Linked DNA regions of Homo sapiens: region 1 is linked to region 2. The links are contacts of gene promoters, found by promoter capture Hi-C in human tissues and cell types (Jung and others, 2019). All regions are on one chromosome and are shown on one strand. Each heading gives the region's core, a stretch centred on a gene start or on the middle of the fragment in contact. The rest is flanking DNA. Distances are from core to core; before and after follow the strand shown. Region 1 overlaps LINC01150 (long intergenic non-protein coding RNA 1150). Region 2 holds the start of KRTAP5-3 (keratin associated protein 5-3).

Evidence for each region. The method cuts DNA at HindIII sites, captures the fragments that hold promoters and counts their contacts. A contact is called where the count stands out against the background at its distance.
Region 1: a contact is called between a fragment that was not itself captured here and the fragment with the promoter of KRTAP5-3 in region 2, in 2 of the 25 tissues and cell types used here (heart left ventricle and liver).

The regions. Positions count from the first base shown.
Region 1 is chr11:1,898,326-1,903,777 of GRCh38, reverse strand. It overlaps LINC01150 (long intergenic non-protein coding RNA 1150), which reads right to left. Exons shown (of 4, transcript NR_120534.1): 2 at 1,054-1,188; 3 at 522-674. It also overlaps a transcript of PRR33 not described here. Among named protein-coding and RNA genes, the nearest start is that of LINC01150, 4.3 kb to the right of the region's middle. The HindIII fragment of the contact is 4,546 bases long and covers 761-5,306 here.
Region 2 is chr11:1,603,976-1,609,733 of GRCh38, reverse strand. KRTAP5-3 (keratin associated protein 5-3) reads left to right here and starts at 1,271. Exons shown (of 1, transcript NM_001012708.2): 1 at 1,271-2,169. The coding sequence starts at 1,349. The coding sequence ends at 2,065. The HindIII fragment of the contact is 8,426 bases long and covers 1-5,233 here.

The DNA.
Region 1 (5,452 bases), core at 1,784-4,283, 290 kb before region 2:
TGATCACGAGGATCTAAGAGCCAAAGCCAAGATTTAATGTAAAATGGGATCCTTCATCTCTGAAAAACCGAGCACCTTCTGGCTCGTATGTCCGTACGTGTTAGGTCCCGGACGCGGCAGATGTTTACAGAAATGGTGGCATCTTACTAAAGGTGAATGAAAATTACGGTGGGATGTTCCAAGTGAACACCACTGCACTTTAAGAAGTGCACCTAAAAACAAGGGCTCCTAATTAGCCTCATCAGGGATGCCAATTGATGTGAAGAAGCTTCTAAAATGATTTCAGTATTTTTACTCCCTCTTTTAAAAGTGTCTGCACAAAAGGCAAATGAGGCCTGGCAAGGTGGCCCATGCCTGTAATTCCAGCACTTTGAGAGGCCAAGGTGGGAAGATTGCTTAAGCCCTGGAGTTTGAGACCAGCCTGGGCGATACAGTGAGACACCCGCCCCCCACCCCCCGCTCCACAGCTCCCCACTATCTCTACGGAAAAAAAAAAATTAGCCAGGCACGGTAGCACTCACCTGTAGTCCCAGCTGCTTAGGAGGCTGAGGCGGGAGGCAGAGGCTGTGTCTGAGGCGTGTGAACCAGAGCGACTCCATCTTGAACAGGGGCTGGGTAAAATGAGACTGAGTCCTACTGGGCTGCATTCCCACATGGTCAGGCATTCTAAGTCACTGGATGAGACAGGAGGTCGGCACAAGATACAGGTCATAAAAACCTTGCTGATAAAACAGGTTGCAGTAAAGAAGCCGGCTAAAATGCACCAAAACCAAGATGGTGACGAGAGTGACCTCTGGTCGTCCTCACTGCTACACTCCCACCAGCACCATGACAGTTTACAGATGCCGTGGCAACGTCAGGAAGTTACCCTGTATGGCCTAAAAAGCAGGGGTGGGGGGCATGAGTAATCCACCCCTGGTTTAGCATCTCATCAAGAAATAACCAAAAAATGGGCAACCAGCAGCTCTCGGGGCTGCTCGGTCTATGGAGTAGCCATTCTTTATTCCTTTACTTTCTTAGTAAACTTGTTTTTGCTTTGCGCCGTGGACTCACCCTGAATTCTTTCTTGCACAGGATCCAAATCCAAGAACCCTCTCTTGGGGTCTGGATCAGGACCCCTCTCCTGTAACAATTGCAGTGAGCTATGATGGCACCACTGCACTCCAGCCTGGGTGACAGAGCAACACCCTGTCAAATAAGATAAAGACAAAATAAGATCATAAATATAAATTAATTAAGACAAAGAAAAAGCTTAAGTGACCAATTGATAAGAAAAAATGAATCTGCTGAGCTTTTGGCCTGGTTACTATCCCATACAGAAAGCTATCCTAGATGAAGTGTGTCTAAAAGGTCTCTCAGATCCAGCAGGCTTTACTTCAGATCCACCCACGCTGAGCCCAGGCCGAGGGAAGCCTTTCTTTGCCTTATTCCTTAATGGGTCCCACCCTGTACTCAGTAATTTCAGCTAAGAAGCAGTAGCCACATTAGAAGGACCACCTATCCACAGGTTGGTGTGAAAGTAATTGTGTGTTTTTTTTTTTTTTTTGAGATAGAGTCTCACTCTGTCGCCCAGGCTGGAGTGCAGTGGCGCGATCTCTGCTCACTGCAAGCTCCGCCTCCCGGGTTCAGACCATTCTCCTGCCTCAGCCTCCCGAGTAGCTGGGACTACAGGCGCCCGCCACCACGCCCGGCTAACTTTTTGTATTTTTAGTAGAGACGGGATCTCACCATGTTAGCCAGGATGGTCTCGATCTCCTGACCTCATGATCCACCCGCCTCGGCCTCCCAAAGTGCTGGGATTACAGGCGTGAGCCACCGCGCCCGGCCATAATTGTGGTTTTTGCAATTACTTTTCAACCAGCCTAATAACTAAAATGCACCTTTCTGACATTCAACGGCTACCTTGAAACCATTTTGTGAAAGAAATTTACATCTCCACAAGACATTTCCATTTGCAACGTCTGGGAGGGACATCCCTTTGTTTTAAATTTACGTAACAAGTCTTACCTTTGTTTAACGTGTTTTTCCTGGCCATGTTGTCTTCACTGGGCCTTGCTTTTTTCTTGGTTGAGCAAATGATGATGGTACAGTATTTAAGCTGAAAGTCTCAGCTTAAATAGCTTTTCATATATACATTTTCTGCCTTGTTTCACCTAAGAGTTATCTTTTTTGAAGGCAAATTGTTCCCTAGCTAACGATTGCTTAGGATGATAAAACAAGTAATTAGAAGATTGATAGTCTAAAGGGGGAAAAGAAAACTATTTGAAAGCTGGCAAATGAAAATTCTTTCTGAAATCTGTAAGATCTGTTTCTATCTGTGTCTGTTATGACTATATGTCTCTCTGTATGACATGTATCTGATAATATTTAGGAAAAAGCTGAAACCACCTTTGCATTGTCTCTTTGACTGAGACGGTGAGAGACATCTAACTTAATTGACTCCATCTTGCCTTTTTTTTTTTTTAGAGGTGGTGTTTTGCTCTTGTCGCCCAGGCTGGAGTGCAATGGCGTAAACTTGGCTCACCACAACCTCTGCCTCCTGGGTTCAAGCGATTCTCCTGCCTCAGCCTCCCAAGTAACTGGGATTACAGGCATCTGCCACAACGCCCGACTAATTTTGTATTTTTTTTAGTAGAGATGAGGTTTCACCATATTGGCCAGGCTGGTCTGGAACTCCTGACCTTGTGATCTGCTCACCTCGGCCTCCCAAAGTGATGGGGTTACAGGCGTAAGCCACCGTGCCTGGCCCTTCCATCTTGCTTCTAACCTCCTTGCTTATTCCTGTCCTTGCTTATTCCTGGGAGTAGGCTGAACTAACTTTGGGAGAAACTTAGTTTATAGTTTAAAACAAAGACGATAACAGCCTTTCCCAGTGGAGAGAGCTACTAAGGGCCCCTATAGTATCCAAAAAAGAGAGAGACAGAAGTATTTGATAAATTAAATTACATGGGAAGCACTGCCAAATAAGAAATGATGTTTAACCTTATTTGAGATATTGTTTGTGAATACGTCATTAATATATGCTCCAAAATTGTATGGGGTTCCTAAAATTCTGATACATCCGGGTATATGCTGTCACTCTTAATTACAGTTAAGTTATTGTAGGCCACAGAAGTAATCAAAATTCCTTGTCAGTTCTTCTTTAACCATGACCATTTTACGTCATTTCCAGAGTTAATTGCTTTTTTCTGACGTTTCTGAAAACTCACAAACACACACAGTCCTACAATATTGAGTCCTCCAGGAGGTTCGTGAAAGGAGAGAAAGGACCCTGATAAGCCCTCTTGAATAGGCTTCTGATAACTTTAGTGTAATGTCATTTGGACTGGGTAAAAATTCCCGGAACTCTAATGGAAAGATTGACTGGTTTATAAAATTGCTAACCTGGGCAGGACAAAAATTAATTGAATACCAAGAAAACACTTTGCCAGCTTTTCATGCTAAATCAGCCAGTACTGATATTGTTTAGATACCCAATTTGAATTAAATCCATCGTCCAAGTCAAATTACCTATGATAACCCTTCTAATAAACAGTGCTATGCACCTGAACTGGAGAAACAAAATTGGTATTTAAGAAGATATAAGTCCAGCATCAAGCATGGACACATGGACAGCCAAGATGGCCACCTGGTCCTTCCTGTGTCCTTGAAGCTTCCACTATTAAATGCTCTGCACTCCATGATTCATCATGGAAGAGACAAATTAATCCAAATTTTATATATATATGTATATATAATATACATATATATATTTGACATGGTGACCGTTGTAAGTTGTTAAAATGGTTTACGACCAATGTTTGGTCTGCCAAACCCATAATCCTGGGAGGACAATCGAAACTTCCATTACACTTCTGCTACTTGATGGGCCATTGAAACATTGCTGGAGGGATTTCCTTCAATTGTCATTTTCAATGCGTGTTTTCTGGTTATATAGAAGCTTTCCCAGGCAAGAGCACTGATGTTATAGCAGTAGCTAAAAGATTATTAGAAAATTGTTTTTCTCATGGGACGTCCCTTGAGAAATCTCCCATGATAGATGTACTTGTTTCACTGCTCAAGTGGTAAAACTGTTAATAACTTGTTACAGATACAATAATATTAAGCAAGGGAAATGAATGAACTGGGCTGCCTTGGTCAAGGGTGTTGCAGGTGGATGGCCGTCGGGTCCATTTCCAGTGGAAAACATAAGTTGGTGCCTTATGAAATAGTCCCTGGAAGTCCTATATAGAACCTCATGTATCTTCCACTCCTCAACTCCGATATGGCTAAAGGCTCCTAGGCCTTAATGCATTATGCCTAAGTATATTTTCACCAGGTACAGAAAGCTTTTCATGGTCCACTGAGGACCCTATCAAACGCTTCACAATCTAGAACCCAGACATTTGGTTTTCTGAGAGTATCACAGAAAGACTGCCCTTGCCACCCACACTGCAGTGAAATTCTAGGACTTTGAACCCTGGGTTCGTTATCTCACCGCTCAAGAGGGCATCGCCAGACTCCAGCAACTGCAGCCCCATTGGAGATTTTAAGGTAAAGCTAATCAGGGAAGTTTCTCCCCAGAAGCAGCTGGCATCCCAGATATGGACAGCTTTTTCCCAAGAACTTGAGACTGTCATGCCTCTGAATAATAGAACTAAAAAGGGATCTCTTATGTGCACTCATGGGGTATACTTTTATTTGTGGAGGATTTTGCAGCCAATCCTATATGTGGACAACCTTTTGCCTTGACAGTTGGAAGACGAAGGGCCAATGTAGGTGAAAAAAAAAATTAGCTCACTCCAAGTCTCACTCTGTTGCCCAAGCTGGAATGCAGTGGTGTGATCTCAGCTCACAGCAACCTTTGCCTCCCAGGTTCAAGCGATTCTCCTGCCTCAGCCTCCCAAGTAGCTGGGATTACAGGCACCTACCACCAAGCCCAGCTAATTTTTGTATTTTTAGTAGAGACAGGGTTTCACCATGTTGACCAGGCTGGTCTCGAACTCCTGACCTCAAGTGCCCACCTCGGCCTCCCAAAGTGTTGGGATTACAGGCGTGAGCCCCTGTGCCCGGTCTGGGTGAAAAATGTTGAGGGTGCCTTTGTTGCTTCCCAATCAATCACAAACAACATCGCTCCACTCCTCTACATCACAGCTTAAAGAGAACTCTGGCAGGAGCTTCACTCTTCTAGATGGGCACTGTTTGTGAGGCCTCTTTTTCCATGGTTTGGAGTAAATGAGGCAAAGATTTAAAATGTATCCCTCTGCTGGGCGTGGTGGCTCACGCCTGTAATCCCAGCACTTTGGGAGGCCGAGGTGGGTGGATCACAACGTCAAGAGATCAAGACCATCCTGGCCAACACGGCAAAACCCTATCTCTACTAAAAATATTAAAAATAAGCTGGGTATGATGGCGGGCGCCTGTAATCTCAACTAATCGTGAGGCTGAGGCAGGAGAATCGCTTGAACCCAGG
Region 2 (5,758 bases), core at 22-2,521:
CTGGGTGTGGTGGTGGGTGCCTGTAATCCCAGCTACTTGGGAGGCTGAGGCAGGAGAATTGCTTGAACTCGGGAGGCAGAGGTTGTAGTGAGCTGAAATTGCATCACTGCACTCCAGCCTGGGTGACAGAGGGAGACTCAGAAAAAAAATTTTTTTTCACTGCATGTAAATTTTACCTTAATAAAAAATTAAAATTTGGCTGGGTGCAGTGGCTCACACCTGTAATCCCAGCACTTTGGGAGACTGAGGCGGGTGGTTCACCTGAGGTCAGGAGTTCGAAACCAGCCTGCCCAACATGGTGAAACTCTGTCTTCACTAAAAATACAAAAAAATTAGCCAGGCCTGGTGGTGGGCGCCTGTAATTCCAGCTACTGGGGAGGCTGAGGCAGGAAAATTGCTTGAACCCAGGAGGCAGAGATTGCAGTGAGCCGAGATTGCGTCACTGCACTTTAGCCCTGGTGACAAGAGCGATACTCCTTCTCAAAAAAAAAATATTAAAATTAATCTTTTAGAAAATAAAAGTGTGTTAGAGAGGTTGGCTAATCAAAATTTTTGTAGCCTTCAAGAAGAATAAACTTGAAGAATATCCATTGATTTGTAGAATTTTTACAAAGAATTAATAGAGGAAAACTCAAAAGCATTAGAAAGGGTCCTGTTCCTCTGTTCCCTCTGTGAGCCCAGCTTGCCTGAAGGGAACGTGGGTCTAATCCGTGTCTGGAGGAGTGAGCCAAACCGCAGGAGGAAGAGGTAAGAAAGACAAAGGAGAACCAGGGCCACACTCAAATCCATGCTCTTCAAAACTTTGTTTTACAGATTTGACAAAATATTTATACTTGAAGTTTTTAAGCGGTGGAACCTATAGACAGCCTTTCTTTCAGCTTATTTTTTTAATTTTTATTTTATTTTATTTTTTACCAAATGACCATCCTTGATATAAACACCAATGCCAGGGGGTGGAGGGTCTGCATCGCTGAGGAGAGCCCTGAGCACCAAGGACAATGGTCCACCCTTCGGCCAAGCAACCACCGCCTCCCAGGCTCCTGGGACACCCACTGGAGAGGGAGCCCAGTGTCTTCTAACAAAGGGAAACACCTATGAGGAAGAGGCCAAATTTAGAAACCAAGGAAAGGACAGCTTGGCTTGAGCTGATGGTGGCTCATGGGATTGTGGAGAGATTAAAAATAACACTTGTGCATGTGAAATAGCAGAAACAACAACAGAAGTATTCACGTGTTCAGTATAAACACCTGGGCAGGAATATAAAGAGCCCGGGCTCAGAGAACTCCACACCTGCACACCTCCCTCTCACCTGCTCCTCTACCTGCTCCACCCTCAACCCACCAGAACCATGGGCTGCTCTGGCTGCTCTGGAGGCTGTGGCTCCAGCTGTGGGGGCTGTGGCTCCAGCTGTGGGGGCTGTGGCTCCGGCTATGGGGGCTGTGGCTCCGGCTGCTGTGTACCTGTCTGCTGCTGCAAGCCCGTGTGCTGCTGTGTGCCAGCCTGTTCCTGCTCCAGCTGTGGCTCCTGTGGGGGCTCCAAGGGGGTCTGTGGCTCTTGTGGGGGCTGCAAGGGGGGCTGTGGCTCCTGTGGAGGCTCCAAGGGGGGCTGTGGCTCCAGCTGCTGTGTGCCCGTCTGCTGCTCCTCCAGCTGTGGCTCCTGTGGGGGTTCCAAGGGGGTCTGTGGATTTCGTGGGGGCTCCAAGGGGGGCTGCGGTTCTTGTGGCTGCTCCCAGTGCAGCTGCTATAAGCCCTGCTGCTGCTCCTCAGGCTGTGGGTCATCCTGCTGCCAGTCCAGCTGCTGCAAGCCCAGCTGCTCCCAGTCCAGCTGCTGTAAGCCCTGCTGTTCCCAGTCCAGCTGCTGTAAGCCCTGCTGCTGCTCCTCAGGCTGTGGGTCATCCTGCTGCCAGTCCAGCTGCTGCAAACCCTGCTGTTCCCAGTCCAGCTGCTGTAAGCCCTGCTGCTGCTCCTCAGGCTGTGGGTCATCCTGCTGCCAGTCCAGCTGCTGCAAGCCCTGCTCCTCCCAGTCCAGCTGCTGTGTCCCAATTTGCTGCCAGTGCAAGATCTGAGGCTCTGCCCACAAACCTCAGTGGGTCCTACAGATCCGGGCTCTCCAGGAATGATTGCAGCTGTGTCCTGAATTCCTGAAGCACGTCTCTGAATCTGTCCTCCTCTGGACTAAGGCAGCCTAGCGTCCAGGGCTCAGTACTCAGCCGCTCAGCCTCTGAGGTCATGAGGGCTTCTGGCATGCTGGGTCCTGCCCATCAACCCTCCCGGAATCCCGTCTTCCTTTCCTGACCCCACCACTTCAACCTTCTCAGGGCTTCAAGATCCCACATCCCTGGGCCCCTCCTGTGAGCCTGCTGGAAACACGCTGACACTGGAATCCTCCGACCTGCTGCCGCCTCTCCCCGGTCCCCGCAACCTCCTGGCTCCTCCCCGCTTCGTCTTCATCCTGCCTGAGCTGCCACCGCTCCGATTGCTTTTGGAGTTGACCTAGAGGACTCGGAATTATTGGAGACCCCAGGATCCTCTCCTGAGGAGGAGGGGCGCCCAGTCTCCTCTTCTACCTCCGACCTGGCCCTGTTTCTTTCCCCAGGGCTTCGCCTTGTAAGTGCCTAGGCTAGATCTTCTAAATAAATACGATCTGCACCTCCCACGAGTTTGCATTGTGATTCTTTTGTTTCAACTTCTGTGTGATTAGAGAAATGTACACTTTCCACAGAGTTGCACTCCCAGGCATTTGGGAACCCCCCGTACCCTGCTGTGTGAGTTTGCTAGGGCTGCTCCACAAACCGTGTGGCTTAAGCAACAGGAGTGGATTGTCTCACAGTCTGGAGTCCGGAATCCGCCATCGAGGTGCCTCAGGGCCGGGTCCTCCTGAGGCCTCCCTCCGTGGCTTACTGATGCCGCCATCCCTATATCCTCACGTACTCATCCCTCTGTGTGTGTCTGCGTCCTCATCTCTTTGCATAAGGACACAGATTAGACTAGGGCCCACCCTACTCCATTAGGTCCATGTTTGAACTAATCACCCCTGTAAAGACCTATCTTCAAATAAGGTGCCATTCTGAGATACTGCGTTGAGGACTCCAACATATGAACCAGGGGGCACAACTCAGCCGTGGCATCCACTTGGCTTGGGGCGTCTCCGTCTTTCCCATCTTCCAGGATACAGAATTGGGAGGCCCCTTGGGCTTCTCTCCCCCACAAGTCGCCAAATCCCTCAGCATCTCCTGGAAGGCTTCCTACAGACATCTATTTCCTGCCTCCTTGTGACACCTCCCTACACAGACTTCTGATTCAGGTGCCCACCTGTCCCTTCCCTGCTGCCTCTGTCAGCTGGGGCTGCCAGAACAAAACCCACAGAGTAAGCCTGGAAGACGGAACAACAGACACCATTTCTCCCAGTTCCGGAGGCTGGAGGGCCTAGACCAAAGTCCAGCATGTTCGACTCATGGGGAGGGAAGGCAGGAGCTGGCGGAGGAGGAGGTGGGCTGCAAGGCTGGAGCCCCCAGACCCAGGCGTCTGTAACAGCAGAGCGCTGGAGGCTGCTCGGGAAGCCACCGTCTCACAGGATGGTAGGCAGTGAGTGCCTGGCGGAACTGCGACAAGAAAGTGAAAACTCAACAACACGGAAGTTTCAGAAATTGCTTCTGAGTTTCTGTTTCGGTAGTAAGGTTGACTAGACACTATTCACAACCCTGAAACTTCTAAAAGGACATGGTGAAACCCCGTCTCCACTAAAAATACAAAAATTAGCCAGGCATGGTGGTGGGCGCCTGTATCCCAGCTACTTGGGAGGCTGACGAAAGAGAATTGCTTGAACCCAGGAGGCGGAGGTTGCAGCGAGCCTAGATCGCACCACTGCATTCCAGCCTGGGCGACAGAGCTAGACTCTTTCTCTAAATAAATAAATAAATAAATACATAAGTAAGTAAATAAATAAAGCTTTAAAGTGCTATGTTTAAAGCATATATATTTTTTTTAAGTCACTGAGCTGTTGAAAAACTAAATAATCCTCAGAGCCAACAAGCAAGAGAGAGCTGGACCCACAGAGGAAGGTGAAAGTCAAAAACGGCCTCCACCCCATGGCTGGACCAGAAAGAGGCCCTGTCTGTTTTCTTCCACCTGTGTTATTGGAAAAAAATATTTGACAAGGAAACATACACCAAACCCAGCTCTTTTGTTTAAAAGCCAATTGCAAAAACACAGAACGAGTGACCTGGTTTAATGGTGGCTAAGAACGATAGAAAAAGGGCCTGGTCTATCTGAGTTAAATTTGAGCTCAGGATGAGGCTAGGGTGTGGTGTTGCTGCCGAAATCCACTCTGTGGTCTGAGGGTGGATTCGTAGCCACACGGTGTCCAACTCAGGGGTGAATGAGCCCCTCCCCATCAGCCCATGCTAGTTCCTTTAATGGACTTTTTTTTCAGAGCAGTTTTAGGTTCACAGCAAAATTGAGAGGAGTGGGCCACAACATCCCCCGTGCTCTACAATGAGAGCACTTCCTCAGAGCCCAAGACAGTAGGCCACTCTCTGGGGGTCCCCAGGGGCTCAGGGTGTGGCTGGCCTGTCCCCAGCTCAGGAGAGACCAGGAGTTGTCTAACAGTTCCTTCATTGGAAGTCTCTGTGGATGCCTCCCACGGACCTGAATGTTGAGGGCCCATGATTTCTACAGTACATTGAGGAGCCGGGATGCAGGGCCCCTATTTCCTCTATGTGTGCCCTGGACACCCCAGGCACAGGGGACAGGCCTGGCCCTGCAACCCCACCAGGGTCCTGACACCAGGCTTGGCCTGGCCTTGTGATGAGCAAGAGAAGAGGCAGGTCCAGAGACACCTCCTGCACGGGATCGCCTGCTTCCGACCCCCATGACAGGCAGTGGCCAGCATGGTGTGGAAGGGGCCAGGATGGCACACGGCAGGCTGCCCTGTAGCCCCAGATGGCTCCTGGCCTCAGGAAATTAATATCCACTGGAAAACTCATCACTTGGAGGCTGCCAGAGGGAAGGGTGAGTGTCACGTTCCTGCAGCCATGGCCAGCCAGCAGCATGCCCTGTGGCCTCTGGCCCAACCTGTGGGACAGGGACCCCAGACAGGGCACAAGTCCCAGTCCCAGAGGGTCCTGGCCTGATGCTAACCCAAGCCCTGTCAAGGGAAGGGCATCAGGGGCGCCATGGGCACCCAGCAGCAGCCAGGAGGATCACACAGGGGACTGAGCCTTCTGTGGCAGTGGCCGGACCCAGAACTTAGCCAAAAGCAGGGCAAGCCTCCTGGATCAGAGCGGGTGCTGCTGCCTGTGCATGCCCAGCAAGGCTGAGCCAGTGATGCTACCAGGGTCCATGAGGCAAGGGTGGGGCAGGAGCAGGCTGACCAGCCGCCAACCTCGTCCACTCCAGGAGGCAGGGATGGCCAAGCTCCCACGCCCTCGTGGCCGCCACCTGACCACCGATGGGGCAGAGGCCTGAGGCCAAGCAGTCAGTGCTGGGGCCCTGCTTCCAAGGTCTACAAACTGCTCCAGTCCGGAGGGCCAAAGATAATTGGGCACGTGAGGGCCCAGGAGGTCAGTTCCCTACGTCTGCCATCCTTGGCAGGTGCATTTCATGGTCAGAAAAAGTCAAGAAAGGTGACACCTCTCAGGTGTTATTATGAAGGACTCTCCCAAGACACATCTTTTTTTACATTTATTTTTATTGTACATATTCATGGTGGACAACATGGTGCTGTGGTAAACATGTACACTACTGAAATGATGGCTGCA